Regions from separate parts of the Homo sapiens genome. Here region 2 is linked to region 1. The links are contacts of gene promoters, found by promoter capture Hi-C in human tissues and cell types (Jung and others, 2019). All regions are on one chromosome and are shown on one strand. The core of a region is centred on a gene start or on the middle of the fragment in contact, and the rest is flanking DNA. Distances in the headings are between cores, read along the strand shown. Region 1 holds the start of NEU3 (neuraminidase 3). Region 2 overlaps XRRA1 (X-ray radiation resistance associated 1).

Region 1 (7,669 bases), core at 1,653-4,152:
GAATCAGTGAGCCAGATCTTAAAGAATGAACAGTGGATTAGCCAACTGAGGGTTAAAAGGAGAAGCGCAGAGGACAAGGATGTGAAAAGCCTATAGGCAACAGAAAACAGTGAGTTTTGGGGCCTCTCAGTAGTTTAGTGTGACTACAGTAAGGTGGAGTGCAAGGGATGGGGGCAGAGGTGGGACTGAAGGGGTCAGCACAGTCCAGATCCTGGGAGGCTTAGATAACTTATTAAGGTGTTTATTCCACAGATGGGAGACCACTCAAGAATTTTTGACAGAGGAATGGCATGATGATTTTAGACCAATCTTCCAGGAAGCTTTCAGGACAGTGAACCATACGGCAAAGTTGCACTGCTTTTGGCTACAGCCTCCTAGTGTCAACCAAGACAAACTTTTATCAATAGCATATGAATATTTAGTCACTTGTTCCTAACTTGAAGAAGGGAAAAGAACTATTGCTCAGTATCATGAGGGGAACTGGGAGAGTGGCCTTGCTGAGTCCAGAAGAAAAGCCTCCCTTCATTTCAATCCCAGGCTCTCAACAGCAGAATCAAAAGATAAGCAAGGGGAGACCATCTTCTCACTCAATACTAGAGCATACTTCTCTCCCCTCAATTCAGGCTCTCCTCCCCGGGAGGGTCAGGCTTTGTTCTAAGCAAACAATCTGTCTCTGAGCCAGGCTGGTGTAATGGTTAAGAACATAGGATTTGGACCAGGCCAGGACTATGTGACCTTGGGCATGTTATTCAACTTCTCTATGCTTCAGGATCCTCCCCTATACAATTCAGCAGAGTAGGTGATAGAAATAAAATGCTTAACTACAGTGGCTATTACAAGGCCTATGACATAGTATGAGTGCAATATATGACAGTTATTATTTTTAAACTACCAATTACTGTATATTCTAGTTTTATTCCTTGAATCCTGTGGATAACAATGACAATAATAACAATTACAACTCCCTTTCTTAAAAACATTTAAATCCCCCTTTATTGCTGAAAGAGAACATACTTTAAACTCTTAACACCTTAATTACAAGTTAAACCAACACTACTATCATCAGTCAACATGTGACTATTAGTTAAATCTAAACAGGAATTCTCCAGGTGATAAGAAGAATGGAGCACAGGATAGGCATGGAGCGGGTTAGGGCTCAGAACAGGAAAGGAAGAGGCTGGGTGCGGTGGCTCATGCCTATATTCCCACCACTCTGGGAGGCTGAGGTGGGCAGATCACTTGAGGTCAGGAGTTCGAGACCACCCTGGCCAACATGGTGACACCCCATCTCTACTAAAAATACAAAAAAAATTGGCCAGGCATGGTGGCATCCACCTGTAATCCCAGCTATTCGGGAGGCTGAGGCAGGAGAATCACTTGAAACCAGGAGACGGAGGTTGCAGTGAGCCGAGACTGCACCACTGCACTCCAGCTTGGGTGACACAGCAAGACTCCATCTCAAAAAAAAAAGGAAATGGAGAGGAAATAGGGAAATAATCACCAAAGGAGAAGCACAACTTGTCACATGGGCTGGATTCAAGTCTCAGCTCCATTTCTTGCTGCATGACGTTTTGATGGTTACTCAACCTCTAGGTCTTGGATTCCTTGCTTGTAAACTATGGATAATAATACCTACCTAAGCAGATCAATATGAAGAACCACTCAAAAGTGTTTTATAAATTTTAAACTGCTGTTTTAATAGGTGTCTTTAATTATAAATTTTGATGTCCTCACAATTTCATTTATGCTTTATTATCACTATAACAATTAGAGCCATTAATTTTTGTAATTATGCTGATCGTGTTGATGACAGAAGTAATATAGATGGTGATTCTGGCATTGCCACCCAAAACGTTTCACACAAATCAGGTGCTGGAAACGGGATAGAAAATAATCAGATATGGGCCTGCTCTGGGGTTCATTTAAGCAGAGAATTCAAATGATTACTTGCTGCTCGATATAATCACTTTCCCATCAAGTCCTTCCCGCTTTCTTACTGGGAGAGAGTATAGCCTAGCATGGACTCTGAAGTCTGACTTATCTTTGACACTTACTAGCAAGTCACTTTACTTCTGAGCTTCAGTTTCCTCACTTATAAAATGGAGATAATACCGCCTACTTCTCAGACTATAATAATGTAATTCCACAGCCTCCAACTAACCCAATGAGCCTCCAGTGAATCCCAGGAGGCCTTCCTATCTCATTTATTCACTCCTAACAAGTAATATTTAAGGAGCACCTACCACGTGCCAGACCTTTGAAGATCTGTAGTCTAAACCCTCTCATGGTATAGATGGGAAAACTCGGGCCCGGGATGGGGACAAAGCTTACTGAACGCCACTCCACAGTAAAATCTGGACCAAGACCCAGGTCTCCTAAGTTGAAACTGAAGCTCAGGGCTCTTTCTGCCGCCCAGAGACCTTTGGTAAGCAGGGCTTTTCCAGTCTCAGTTCCCTTTCATCTCTGGAGTGATAATTCTGAGGTTTAAGTTCGGCTTCTGTGAGAACGAATAAAAATAGGACTAGCCAAGAATTCTCTGGCCAGGTCAGATCCTAGCCGACTAGGTGGCTCTGTCTCAATAATCCAAGGCTGGATTTCCCAAACGCAGATGGTCTTGCTCAACCTGTCCCCACAGTTGAGTCCTCCTCGGGGAGCTCTCCTGTCTCCCAACCCCGCTCACCTGCACTGGACCCCGGCTCCTCCGTCTCTGTCGGGGCAGAGCTGGACGCCGGGGATTCTTCCATGGGGCGCGGGGGCAGGTCCGCAGGTCTCATTCGCCGAAGCCCGGAAGAGGCACCGGCCCCAAGGCTGGGGAGACTGAGACAGAGGAGGATAGAGAGGGAGAAACAACTGAGACGGAGGACACGGAGACAAGCCCCGAGAAGCGAAGAGCGTGTCGACTGCCGGAAACAGGTAACGGCAACGAAAAGAGGCGGGCGCAGGCTGTAGTCAGTGGCGGTTGGGGCCAACCGTTGGCCTACTCCGCGAGCCCTCCCCGTCCCGCCCCCTCGGCGCTGCCCCTCCCTCCAGCCCGCAGCTCGGTCCCCACCACGGCGTGGGACCGGCACCACCTCCACCCTCGCCAACTCAGCTCAAGCCCTGGGCCCACCTCAGTTCCCAACGGCCGCCTCCTCTCTTCAGTGCCACAGCCCCGAGCTCTTATATTGGTCTGTAGCTCGGTATCACCGCCTAAAGCTTCCCTGGACAGCCTGAGAGTTGAGCAAAGGTTCCCGGCCTCAGAGGGTACCCTACAAAAAGGACCAGAGGTCCAGAGCATTGGCTACTCTCCTTGCAAAATATGAAAATGAAAATATATTCATATATATAATTTATGTGTGTGTATATACACACATTTACATACATAGATTTGTCACATAGCACTGAGTCCATTCTTCTGTTTCACAGTACCGGAATTTAAGCCCCCCTCTCCCCAGCCAAAGAGGAAAGGACTGATCTAAGGTCATTTTTTATCTGGGACTAAGTACAACGTAAAGGTAATAGGCTGGGCCTGGTGGCTTATGCCTACAATCTCAGCGCTTTGGAAGGCCTACGTGGGAGGATGCCTTGAGCCCAGGAGTTGGAGGCTGTGGTGAGCTGTGATTGCACCACTGCACTCCAGCCTGGGTGACAGAGCGAGACCCTGTCTCTAAAATATAACAATTTTAAAAAGAAGAAATTTTACAAACGCCAATAAAAGGAAAGACAGACTGCTAACTTAGAGGACATAAAAATGTAAAGCTTCTGTAAATTTGAATTCGTGATATTTTTCTCATTAAAAAAAATCCTGTGCTGAGGCAGGGAACATACAAGATGAGCCTGGAACATCGTGGTGCCACAAGGAAAGAACTCACAAAATGATGAGGGTTCTTTGAAAGAACATAGGTGCCAACCTCAATACAACCTGCTGTATTTTTCTAAAAAAAAAAAAAAAAAAAAGAAAAAAAAAAAGGCCTAGAACCAGAGACCAACTCATCGTAATAAGCCCAAATAATGGGTCTTTTTTATTTTTATTTTTATTTTTTGAGATGGAGTGTGTCTCTGCCGCCCAGGCTGGAGTGCAGTGGCGTCATCTTGGCTCACTGCAAGCTCCGCCTCCCGGGTTCACGCCATTCTCCTGCCTCAGCCTCCCGAGTAGCTGGGACTACAGGCGCCCACCACCACGCCCGGCTAATTTTTTGTATTTTTTATAGAGACGGGGTTTCACCATGTTAGCCAGGATGATCTCGATCTCCTGACCTCGTGATCCGCCCGCCTCGGCCTACCAAAGTGCTGGGATTACAGGCGTGAGCCACCGCGCCTGGCAATAATGGGTCTTAAAATACTATTTTGTCCCCAAAGGAACCAGGGTTCCATGAAAAAAATGGCTGATTTTAGGTGCAGGGAAGAAAATTTATAAGATTAGCCTAGAACATCTTAACAGAAAGCAAGAAAGCCATAAAAGACTATTTCAGGTCATGTCAAAAGAAGGTAAGAATCAATTTGAAGGTGATTCCACTGGCCAAATATGGAAAAATTAGAACATCAAAAAGAACAAGGACTGCAAAGAAAGTTCATATCGACATATGGAGAAAAATGTCACTTTGGTCACCTCAGAGTTTGCTAAGGAAAGCAGCTTTTTATTCTGCCTTTCCTGTACAAACCCTATTTCTGGGTAACTAAATAGTTGATGGGGAAAAGTTCTCCTTCATAAAATAATTAACTGACCAATGCCAAATGAATGATAGAATTTCATCATTTTGTCCTTTAATGACAAAATGAATTTAATGAATCTAGACAGCAATTATCAATAGCTACTAAAAGCTACACCCTTATTGCTCACCTTTTCTTCCCTTCCTACTTTCCCACCTCATTATGGCACTCCCTGCATCTCTCACATATACTATTGCCCTCAGGTCCTGGTCTCAGAACTTGCCTCTGGGAGAACTCAAATAAAGACCCTATACCAGGAGATAAGAACAACAAAACAGTAATGAGTTAAGGATCTAACTTAAGAATGTAGAAAAGGAAGAACAGAATAAATCCCAAAAAGGTAGAAAAGGAAATGATGAAAATAAGAACAGAATAAATGAAACAAGAAGCAAAGTACAATAGAGGGGACTGACAAAAGCAAATATTAGTCTTGACATATCTAATAAACCGGACAAACCCTCTGGCAAGACTCATTTTTAAAAGTTATAAATGATATTAATGAAAAGGAGACTATATGCAGGGATACAACAGAGATGAGAAATAAATATTAAACAAACTTTATTCCTTAAGTTTGAAAATCTAGATAAAGTTAATACAGTTTTAGAAAAAGTTACCAAACTAAGATATGGAAAATGTGAAGTCTTACAACTATTTAAAAATCTAAATCAGTATTTTAAAATCTATTCACAAAGATAACACAACTATCCCAATTATTCCAATCTTGTATTTCCTTCATTAATAGAAGGAATGTAAATTGGTACAGTCGCTTTAGAGGAAAATTTAGCAATACCTAGAAAAGTAAAAATGTATATCCTCTCCCACCAAGGAATCCCACTACCTGTATTAGATGTGTCCATACAAGAATGCTCATAGCAGCAAATGTTTAATAGTGAAAAATTATAAAAGACCTAAATGTCCATTAATAGGGTAAATAAACTGTCATGTTTAACAGTATACAGCAGTGAAATAGAATAAATTGTAGCTACAGGTATCAATCTAAATTATCTTCACAAACAAAATATTGAACAAAAAAGCAAGTTGCACAATACAGAGAGAATGGTACTTGTGCAGATTTACCATAGCAGGCCTAACAGGTTATCCTTAGGAAGGCCTGCTTGCAAGGTTGGTGTTTTTTGACAGGTGTCTGGAAACTTGGCTCTCAAAGTGTTCCCAGTCACCAGTTAACTGAAAAGGGTAGTTGACTATGTAGACTGTTTGATTGCAGTATGATTTATGGTGGATACCTGCTTGCTTTCTAGGAGTCTTTATTATGTGCTAGGCAGATGGTGCCCACATGACCAAACCTCAATAAACTGTGGGTACTCTCTAATGGGCTCCCTGGACAGAAACATTACACACGTGTTGCTGCATTTTTGTTGTTGGGGCAAAGTGGGCTCTTTGCAATCCCTCATGGGAGGAAGAGCATAAGGAAGCCTGCAAATGGATTCCTCCAGACTCTGCCAGTGTCCTTTTCCCTTATGATCCAGATGTGTCCTTATTTTATCGAAGAATAAATCTTAGTCATATATGCTGAGTCGCGTGGGTCCTTCTAGCAAATACCTGAACACAGGGGTTGTTTGGGAGACTCTCAATCAAAAACCACATATAAAGTTTAAAAACAGGTAAAACAATAACCATATATATTGTATAAGAGCTCCCAAGGAGGTAAAAATAAAATTAAAAAATAACCATATATGTCTCTATATATCTGTATATATCCATATATATAATGGACACATATGTATGAAGAAAATGCTTACGAATAATAAACACCACATTCCAGGTAGTAGTAACTTCTGAAAGTGCAGGAAGTAAGATATGATTAAGGATACCCTGAGGACTTCAACTGTATTGGTAATATATATATTTTTAATGGCAGTAGGTTCACAAATATTCATCTTATTATTCTTTAAGCCTTATTTGTCTGAAATATTTCCTTTATAAAAACCGGGTCATGTCCTGGGGTTCTTTATCAGACTTCTCCAAGTTCACAATCACCAACTCTGTGGATCTCAAATTTTATAGACCCAAAGCTAATACCAAATCTTTCTCAATTCTTTGAGGTAAACTCAGATGGTCTCATCTTATGCCTGAGAAAGTGAAGTTAAAGAGCAATTTCTATATTTAGAGGTAGAGAATCCTGGCTCCAATCCTCTCTTCCCACTTCCTAGCTGAGTGATCTCGGCAACTTATTTAACTTCTGTGCCTCAGGTTCCTCATCTGTAAAATGGCCCAACTCCTCACTCATGGTTCAGTTTTCACTTCCTGTATGAGGACCTCCCAGACCTCCATACTAGAACAAATACTCCTTTTCAAGCCCCCATAGCACTTTGCACCTCCTTCTACTGTGTTCAGATTGTCTAAGTGTCTGACACTCTCAGCAGACTGTGAGCAACTAAAGCGAGGGGATCAGGCCTGGCACCCGTATTAGCAGAGCAGAATTATATAAAAGTTTGAAGGAAGAGGGATGCAGAAGGGTATTAAGTAATGCGATCAAGTAAGATGGCACAGGAATATCGGGGGAACTTCCTGTTACAGAAGTTAGGGAGCTTCCAAGATATGGGACAGGCAGAAGTAGGAGTGGGGCTGTCAAGAATTGTGAAGGGTCTGAGATTTTTATCTTACCTGCAAGCTAACAAGATAGCCTGTTACTACCTGTAAAAAGGATAGTTTGTTACTTACAGCAATAGCAGTAGCCAGAGTACCAGCATTTGTTCCAGTTCTGAGCCCCAATTCCCATATGATGACGCAGAGAGCCAGATGATACCTGCACATGTAATGAAGTGCCTTAAAGGAGAGGAACTTTGAGGTTAGGGAACCTGAATCTTCAATAATGGGCAGTGAGCATGTGCGCCCTTTGCTCTGATACCTTCTAAGGTTGTTTACTATACAAACATTCCTGGACAAATAGTCTGGAACAAAGATAGTCAGTGCCTCTCTTTGCAAAATATGCAGAAATGCTAGAGACCCATGAAGAATT
Region 2 (7,669 bases), core at 2,688-5,187, 120 kb after region 1:
GGGTTTTTGCACTCCTAATATTGGGGTGTTGCAGGGGCTGCTACAAGGTTCGAGGAGGCCCTGCATTTTCAGGTTATTAATAATGGCTTCTAGCCCCTTCCTAGCCTTGGCTTTAGGGGATATTGTCTCTGGTTAAGAAAAGCAGTGGGATCCTTAAGATGGATCTGAACTGGCCTATTTTTCCTTGAGTTGCTCACCCTTCTGGATTAATAATAGCTTCCACCTGGGGGAAACAAAGAGTTTGTCTTGGGGCTATAAGGATGCTGGCCCCCATGCAAGCTAAAATGTCTCTGCCTAATGAAGGAGTGGTACTTTCAGGCATGAGTAAGAAGGCATGAGTAAATAATAGGTCCTCCCAACTACAACTAAGGGGTTGAGAAAAATATCAGGTTAGAACTTTACCTGAGATGCCCATCATGGTCATGCTATGGGAAAAGGGGATTAGGGAGAAGAGGGATGCTGGTTCCAATGTCTAGAAGAAGGTCCACCTTCCTTCCTTCCTTCAATTTTCAGAATCACCTGGGGCTCCTGTGCAGTAATGACAGTTTCAGCTGCTGGAGCCAGGGGTCTGAACCCCAGGACCCAACAGTCCTGTTGGACCATCTGTGAGACTGGTTCTGAACCCAGTGACCTCCATCTCCAGGGGCAGTCTGATCTCCAGTGGTCCCAACCACTGGCTGGACATGGTTGGGGTGGCTTCTACTTGCTGCCTGGGCACTCCTTCTTAAAGTGCCCTGACTTGCCACACTGGTAGCAACTAATGGATACACCTTGGGGATCCTGGACTTTGCAAGTTTGCAAAGCAGCTACTAGAGCCTCTGCCTTCTCTCGCGTTTCCTCTCTTTCTCCAGGGCCGCCTTCTGGTCCCTATTATGAAAGACCAAGGTAACCACCCTCAAGTGGTTTTTCAAGGTGCTATCTGGTCCTATAGCCTGCTTCTACAGTTTCCTTCTAATATTGGGAGCTGCCAGTATAATAAACTTGTCCTTGAGGGTTAGCTGTCCCTTGACTGAGTAGGGGATAAGGAGGTGTGTTTTATTAGTGCTTCTCTCAGCCTTTCCATAAAGGCTGCAGGATTCTCATCTGGCTTTTGGTTTATCTTGGACAGTTTAGAGTAATGAAGAGGTTTGGCTCTCCTAGTTCTTTATAGGCCCTCCAATATGCACATTAATAAGTGTTTCCTTTTCCATTCATTTGTGGAGTCATCAGGGTTCCAAATCAGGGTTGTCAAGAGGTACTGCCTCTCTTCTCTACTGGGAATGATGGTTCCCCTATCTCTTCACCTTCCCTATTTTCTCTTTTCCTTTTTGGCCTACTGTAAGAAACATACTGCTTGTCTCCAAATTTCTCTGATGCATGCAGAGCTGCCTGCTTTTCAGCTGCGGTTAGGGTTTGGCTTAGGAGCAGCATAACATCTCTCCATGAGAGGTCAAACACCTGAGTTAAATTTTGGAAAGCTTCTTTATACCTATCGGAGTCATCAGAAAATCAGCCTAAGTATCCCTTTATTTGCCTAAGGTCATGCAATGAGACAGGAACTTGAACCCTAGTGGCATCACCTCCATTGGTCATTTCCTGCAGGGGTAAGAGTGAAGCTGGGGGAGTGGGGAATTTTGGAGATAGTGGAACTAGAGGAGCTGATGGCACAGTTGGAGGGGGCCCTAAATAAGGGGGACAGGAAGAGCCGGGACACTCAATAGCTGCCTGAAGTTGCTTTTTTAGTTTTGGGGAATCATTACCTTTTGGATTGCCTGATATGACTGCTAAAAGAGCTTGGTTGATTGTCCAGTGCATGCAAAGGTCTAGTAAGAAGGCCATGCCCTTGTGCAAAAGCAGTTTCAGGATTAAAGGAGTCTCAGTGCTTCAGAATGCACTTGAGCGGGGTGCAGGCTAAAGATGGCTAGAAAGCTAGGGGAGACAAGGAGTCCCTTATTCCCCTCCTTCCTTTAGAATGGCCCAAGGTAGACAGGAAGACAATGGGAGCATCCCCCAACTGTTTTCCCTTCTTGGTTCCCTGAGCCTCGGCATCTGTTAAAAGGTGCTACTCTTGGATGCAGGCATGTCCCTCAGGCATGGATCTAGAGAAGCTAAGTGATGGATTTAGTCACACTCACCCATGCAACTCTAATCCTCCACTGGTGATTTCCCTTTGACTTCCTAACTTCTGTGATCTATGTGGCTACCTGATAGATGGCTCTTGGGAAAGACTATATAACAGTTGTATTTGCAAGGCCCTTTAATGGAGAGAGTGTACTGGGTTGAGCTCTATACTGCTATTATGGCCTGGACTAAAATATTTATTGTTAGGCAGTGGTTCTGGTTAACTTTAAGACATTACATCCCCTTACTATTTAAGTACCATTTTAATGAGAGGCAGAATAAGTGCCTTAAAAGAATGTAGGAACTGAATGGTGGTTTTCCTGCTGATGGGACAATATCAAAACTAAAATTTGGTTTTGGAGGGCATTTTCCTCCTCATTGTTGAGTTTTCCCATTCACAGAAGGAGCATAAAGCCTGGCCTCTAGTAGAGGAGTACAAAAGGGGAGGAGAATTGGAAAACTAGAGTGTTTAGGCAAAGGGCTGACAAGGTACCTCATGGAGAGGATTTCTATTCCACTAGGTGGTGCTGTAGACCTTGAAATACCATGTGATCTCCAGAGCAAGCGGGGAGAGAGATGCTCACTGCCAGGGAAAGGGAGATCCTTTCTATTCCTAGAAAATCACAAAAATGGCAATCCTTTGCATTATATTCCTGGTTACTATGGCATTTGCTGATGCTATCTAACAGGATTATTTCCCTGAAGTGTAAAAATTCCCACAGCATTTCATACAGAGAGGGGATAGGAGACATGGCAGTCGACAGGAAAGAAGGAAAAATGCAATAGGAAAAGCTTGGAGATCCTGTTACTGATGCTCAGTGGGCAGTCAGAGTCTGAGGTTAATCCAGAAGCCTTCGGGTAACACCTGGGTGTAGCCCTGGCCAGGAACTATCAGTTGCCTCTGGACCTCTTCCAGCCCCATGCAATAGCTAGGCTCTCCATGAAAGGAAACTGGTTTGAAACACAGTCAACATTCCCAGCACCCTGAGGGTACCGAGGGATTCACTAAGTTCTCCCGAGCAAGCCTGTTGTCTAAGTCTTGAGATGGGTGGCATTCCCTAAGGGCATCTAGGTGGCCATCAGACACCGAATGTTTTTGGTTTTATTTTAAAATGGAGGGCAGAAGGCCCCAAAATGAAAGTAAAGATTTGGGGTCTGCTCCTATACTCACCCTTCTGATGAATCTACCTTGGATCCCAGATGGGCCCCACAATGAAGTGGCCTCATTGTTGGGGGTGATACCCGAGGTTTGTTGTCTCATGGCTGAGGAAATCAAGGACCTGGGCACACAAAGAGTGAGGTTAAGAGTGGAAGTTTAATAGGTGAAAGAGAATAGCTTTCTGCTGGAGAGGGGGATCCCAGAGAAATGGCTTGTCAGATCTGTGGTTAAATGCAGGGGCTCTTATAGGTGCCTGATGAGGAGGCAGTATCTGATTTACATAGGGTGTGAAAGATTGGTTGGACCAGGTGTGCCATCTGCATAGGGTATGAAAAACTCATTAGAACTAGGTTTGTCATTTGCATAGGGCACAAAAAAATGGTCGCCCCCATACTAATCTTCTAATATGCAGGCAGGTCCTCTGCCTGGCCTGCACCATGTTGCCCATCCCTTTACTGTACACATATTAACAAAAAAAGAAAAGATGGAGCCTCCATGTTGGACATGCCTGGCTCCCAGGTAGCCCTTTTCTATTGGCACAACTGCTGGCATTCCCCCATGCAAACTTCCAGCTTGCTTATCTATGTTTTCAGCTCAGTTTTTCAGGCTGCTCTTTGTTAGAAAAAAATAATTTCTTGGGCTGCTTCTTGCTAAAAGGGAAGCTTTGCTGAGGACTCTTTTACCCTATCTGCCTAAATAATTTCTTTCTACCTCCTGTATCAGTATGTTGCCTCTTTGTTCTCCTTTAGTTTCAAAGAATATCTTGATTTCTCCCTTAATTTCATTATTTACCCAAAAGTCATTCAGGAGCAGGTTTATTTCAATGTAATTATATGGTTTTGAGCAATTTTCTTAGTATTTCTATTTTATGGTGCTGTGCTCCAAGAGTGTGGTTAGTATGATTTCATTTTTTTTTAAAATTGTACTGAGGATTGTTCTATATCTGATTGTGTGGTTGACTTTAGAATATGTGCCATGTGCAGCTGAGAAGAATGTATATTCTGTTGTTTTGGGGTGGAGTGTTCTGTAGATGTCAATTGGGTCCATATGGTCAAGTATTGAGTTCAGGTCATTAATATCTTTGTCAGTTTTCTGCCTCAATGATCTAATATTATTATTGGGGTATTCATGTCCTGCACAATTATCGTATGTTTATCCAAGTCTCTTTATATGTCTCTAAAAGCAACTTGCTTTTTGAATCTGGGTCTCCTCTGTTGGATGCATATATATTTAGGATAGTTCTTGTTGAATTGAGCTCTTTACCATTATATAATATCCTTCTTTGTCTTTTTTTTTTTAATCTTTGTTGGTTTAATGTCTGTTTTGTCTGAGTTTAGAATAATTTCAACAACCCCTGCTTTTTTTCTCTTTTCCATTTGCTTGGTAGATTTTTCTCCATCCGTTTGCTTTCAGCCTATGGGTGTCATCACATGTGAGATGGGTCTCTTGAAGACAGCATACCATCAGGTCTTGCTTCTTTATTCAACTGATCACTCTGTGCCATTTAGCTCATTTATATTCAAAGTTAATATTGATATGTGAGGATTTGTTCATTATTATGCAGACTTGTTCATGTGGTTGCTTTATAGTGTTAATGGTCTATTTACTTAAGTGTGTTTTTGTAGTGGCCGGTAACAGTCTTTTCTTTCCAAGTTTAGCACTCCCTTCAAGACCTCTTGTAAGGCATATCTGGTCGGATAGTAATGAAATCCCTTAGCATTTGCATGTCTGAAAAGGATCTTATTTCTCCTTCACTTACAAAGCTTAGCTTGGCTGGATATGAAATTCTTGGTTGGAAATTCTTTTCTTTAAGAATGTTGAGCCCAGCGCAGTGGCTCATACCTGTAATCCTAGCACTTTGGGAAGCTGAGGCAGGTGGATCACTTGAGGCCAGAAGTTCAAGAGCAGACTGGCCAATATGGTGAAACCCTGTCTCTACTAAAAATACAAAAAATTAGGTGCGGTGACGCATGCTTGTAATCCCAGTTACTTGGGAGACTGAGGTATGAGAATCACTTGAACCTGGGAGGCGGAGGTTGCAGTGAACCAAGATCGCACCATTGTACTCCAGCCTGGATGACGGGAGCAAGACTCTGTCTCAGAAAAAAAAAAAAAAAAAAAGATTGACTATAGGCCCCCATTCTCCTCTGGTTTGTGCTGAAAGGTCTGCTGTTTGTTAGTTGATGGGTTTTTTTTTGTAGGTGACCTGTCCTTTCTCTCTAGCTGCCTTTAACATTTCTATCATTTTGACCTTGGAGAATCCAATTACTATGTTTCTTGGGGATGGTCTTCTTGTGTAGTATTTCACAGGGGTTCTCTGCATTTCCTGAATTTGAATGTTGGCCTCTATAGCAAAGTTGGGGAAATTGTCATGCATGATAACCTGAAATGTGTTTTCCAAATTGCTTGCTTTCTCTCCTTGCATTTCAGGGATACCAATGAGTCATATTTTTGGTCTCTTTACATAATCCCATATTTCTCAGAGGTTTTGCTCATTCTTCCTTACTATTTTTTTATTTTGGTCTGACTGAGTTATTTTGAAGAGCCAGTCTTTCAGCTCTGAGTCTTTCCTCAGCTTGGTTGATTCTGCTGTTAACATTGCAGTTGTATTCTGAAATTCTTAAAGTGAGCTTTTCAGCTGTATCAGCTCACTTTGCTTCTTTCTTAACATGGCCATTTCATCTTTCATCTCCCATATTATTTTATTTATTCCTTAGATTCCTTGTATTGGGTTTCAACTTTCTCCTGAATGTCAGTGATCTCCATTCCCATCCATATTCTGAATTCCATTTCTGTCATTTCAACCTGTTTAAGAACCATTGCTGGAGAACTAGTGTGGTCATTTGGAGGTAAAAAGACACTCTGGCTTTTTGATTTGCCAGAGTTCTTGTCTGGTTCTTTCTCATCTGTGTGGGCTGGTATTCCTTCAATCTTTGAAGGTGCCATCCTTTGGATGGGCCAGGGTGCAGGGCCACTGGTGTCCATGCTTAATGTTCATGCTGGCAGTGGCAGTGGAAGTGGGTGTGCTTATGCTGGCAGTAATGGCATGGTGGGGTACGTGCACACCCACCCAGTCTCCAGATTTGGAAAGTTTTCTGTTATTCTTTGAATAAGCTTTCTACCCCTTTTGTCTTTCTCATATCCCTCTTTAACTTTAGCAACCCTAATATTTTCTTTTTTGATGTTGTCCCATAGATCCTGCAAGCTTTTATTCCTTTTCATTCTTCTTCCTTTTTTCTCCTCTGACTGTATATTTTCATATAATCTTTGAGCTCACTGATTCCTCTGTTTGATTAATTCTGCTGTTGATACTCTCTGTTGACTTTTTCATTTCATTCATTATATTTTTCAATTCCAGGATTTCTTTGATTTTTTTTTTTTTTTAATTATTTCAATCTCCTTGTTAAATTTTTCTGGTAAATTTCTGAACTGATTCTCTGTGTTTTCTTGAAGTTCACTGTGCTTCCTTAAAACATCTGTTTTGGCTGGGCATAGTGACTCATGCCTATAATCCCAGCACTTTGGGAGGCTGAAGTAGGAAGATTGCTTGAGCCCAGGAGTTCAAGACCAGCCTGGGCAACAAAGTGAGTCTCCCATGTCTACAAAAAAATAAAAACATTAACCAGGCATGGTGGTGCATGCCTGTGGTCCCAGCTACATGGGAGGCTGAGGTGGGAGGATTGCTTGAGCCCAGGAGGTTGAGGCTGCAGTAAGCAATGTTCATGTCACTGTACTCCAACCTGGGTGACAGAATGAGAGCCTGTCTCCAAAAAAAGCACAAAACAAAACAAAAAAAATAAAAAAACCCAAAAAAATGTTCTTTTGAATTCTTTGTCTGAGAGATCACACATCTCTATTACTTTATGTTTGATCTCTGGCATCTTATTTTGTCTGTTTGGTGACGTCATATTTCCCTGAATATTCCTGATGTTTGTAGAAGTGTGATGATATCCGTGCCTTGAAATATTAGGTATTTATTTTTGCCTTTGTAGTCTGGCTTTGTGTGTGCCTGTCCTTCTTCAGAGGGACTTCCAGGGATTCTAGGCAGACTGACTGTTACATTTCCTGAGCTTGGGACCACTACTGGCATCTCAGCACTGAGCGATGGTCTAAACCCAGGCTTGCTGCAAGTCTTGCAAAGACTGAGATTGGTGTGGCTTTCTGGCCCAAATGGCTCTGGGAAGACCCAAACACAGGACTGGGGCTATGTGGGAATGTTGGCCAAGGGGACCTGAGTCCAGAACACTGTCCCAGTGGCCCAGATATGTGTTCCTCCCAGCAGGTCTCTGCATGGGCAGGATGGGTCCCAGCTGTAGCCAGAGGGACTGAATTTAAGACTGGGGCATGTTGGGATCTGTTGTAGGAATGAAGCTGGTGGTCCATCTCATTGGCTTAGACAGGTGTATGTCA

Evidence for each region. Contacts are between HindIII fragments. The study calls those that stand out against the background at their distance.
Region 2: a fragment that was not itself captured here is called in contact with the fragment with the promoter of NEU3 in region 1 in 2 of the 25 tissues and cell types used here (liver and thymus).

What each region holds. Positions count from the first base shown.
Region 1 is chr11:74,984,166-74,991,834 of GRCh38, reverse strand. NEU3 (neuraminidase 3) reads right to left here and starts at 2,902. Exons shown (of 3, transcript NM_006656.6): 1 at 2,681-2,902. The coding sequence starts at 2,774. RefSeq lists enhancers at 2,633-2,822, 3,103-3,152. The HindIII fragment of the contact is 16,586 bases long and covers 2,762-7,669 here.
Region 2 is chr11:74,865,629-74,873,297 of GRCh38, reverse strand. All of the region lies in intron 10 of XRRA1 (X-ray radiation resistance associated 1), which reads left to right. Among named protein-coding and RNA genes, the nearest start is that of XRRA1, 80 kb to the left of the region's middle. The HindIII fragment of the contact is 3,523 bases long and covers 2,176-5,698 here.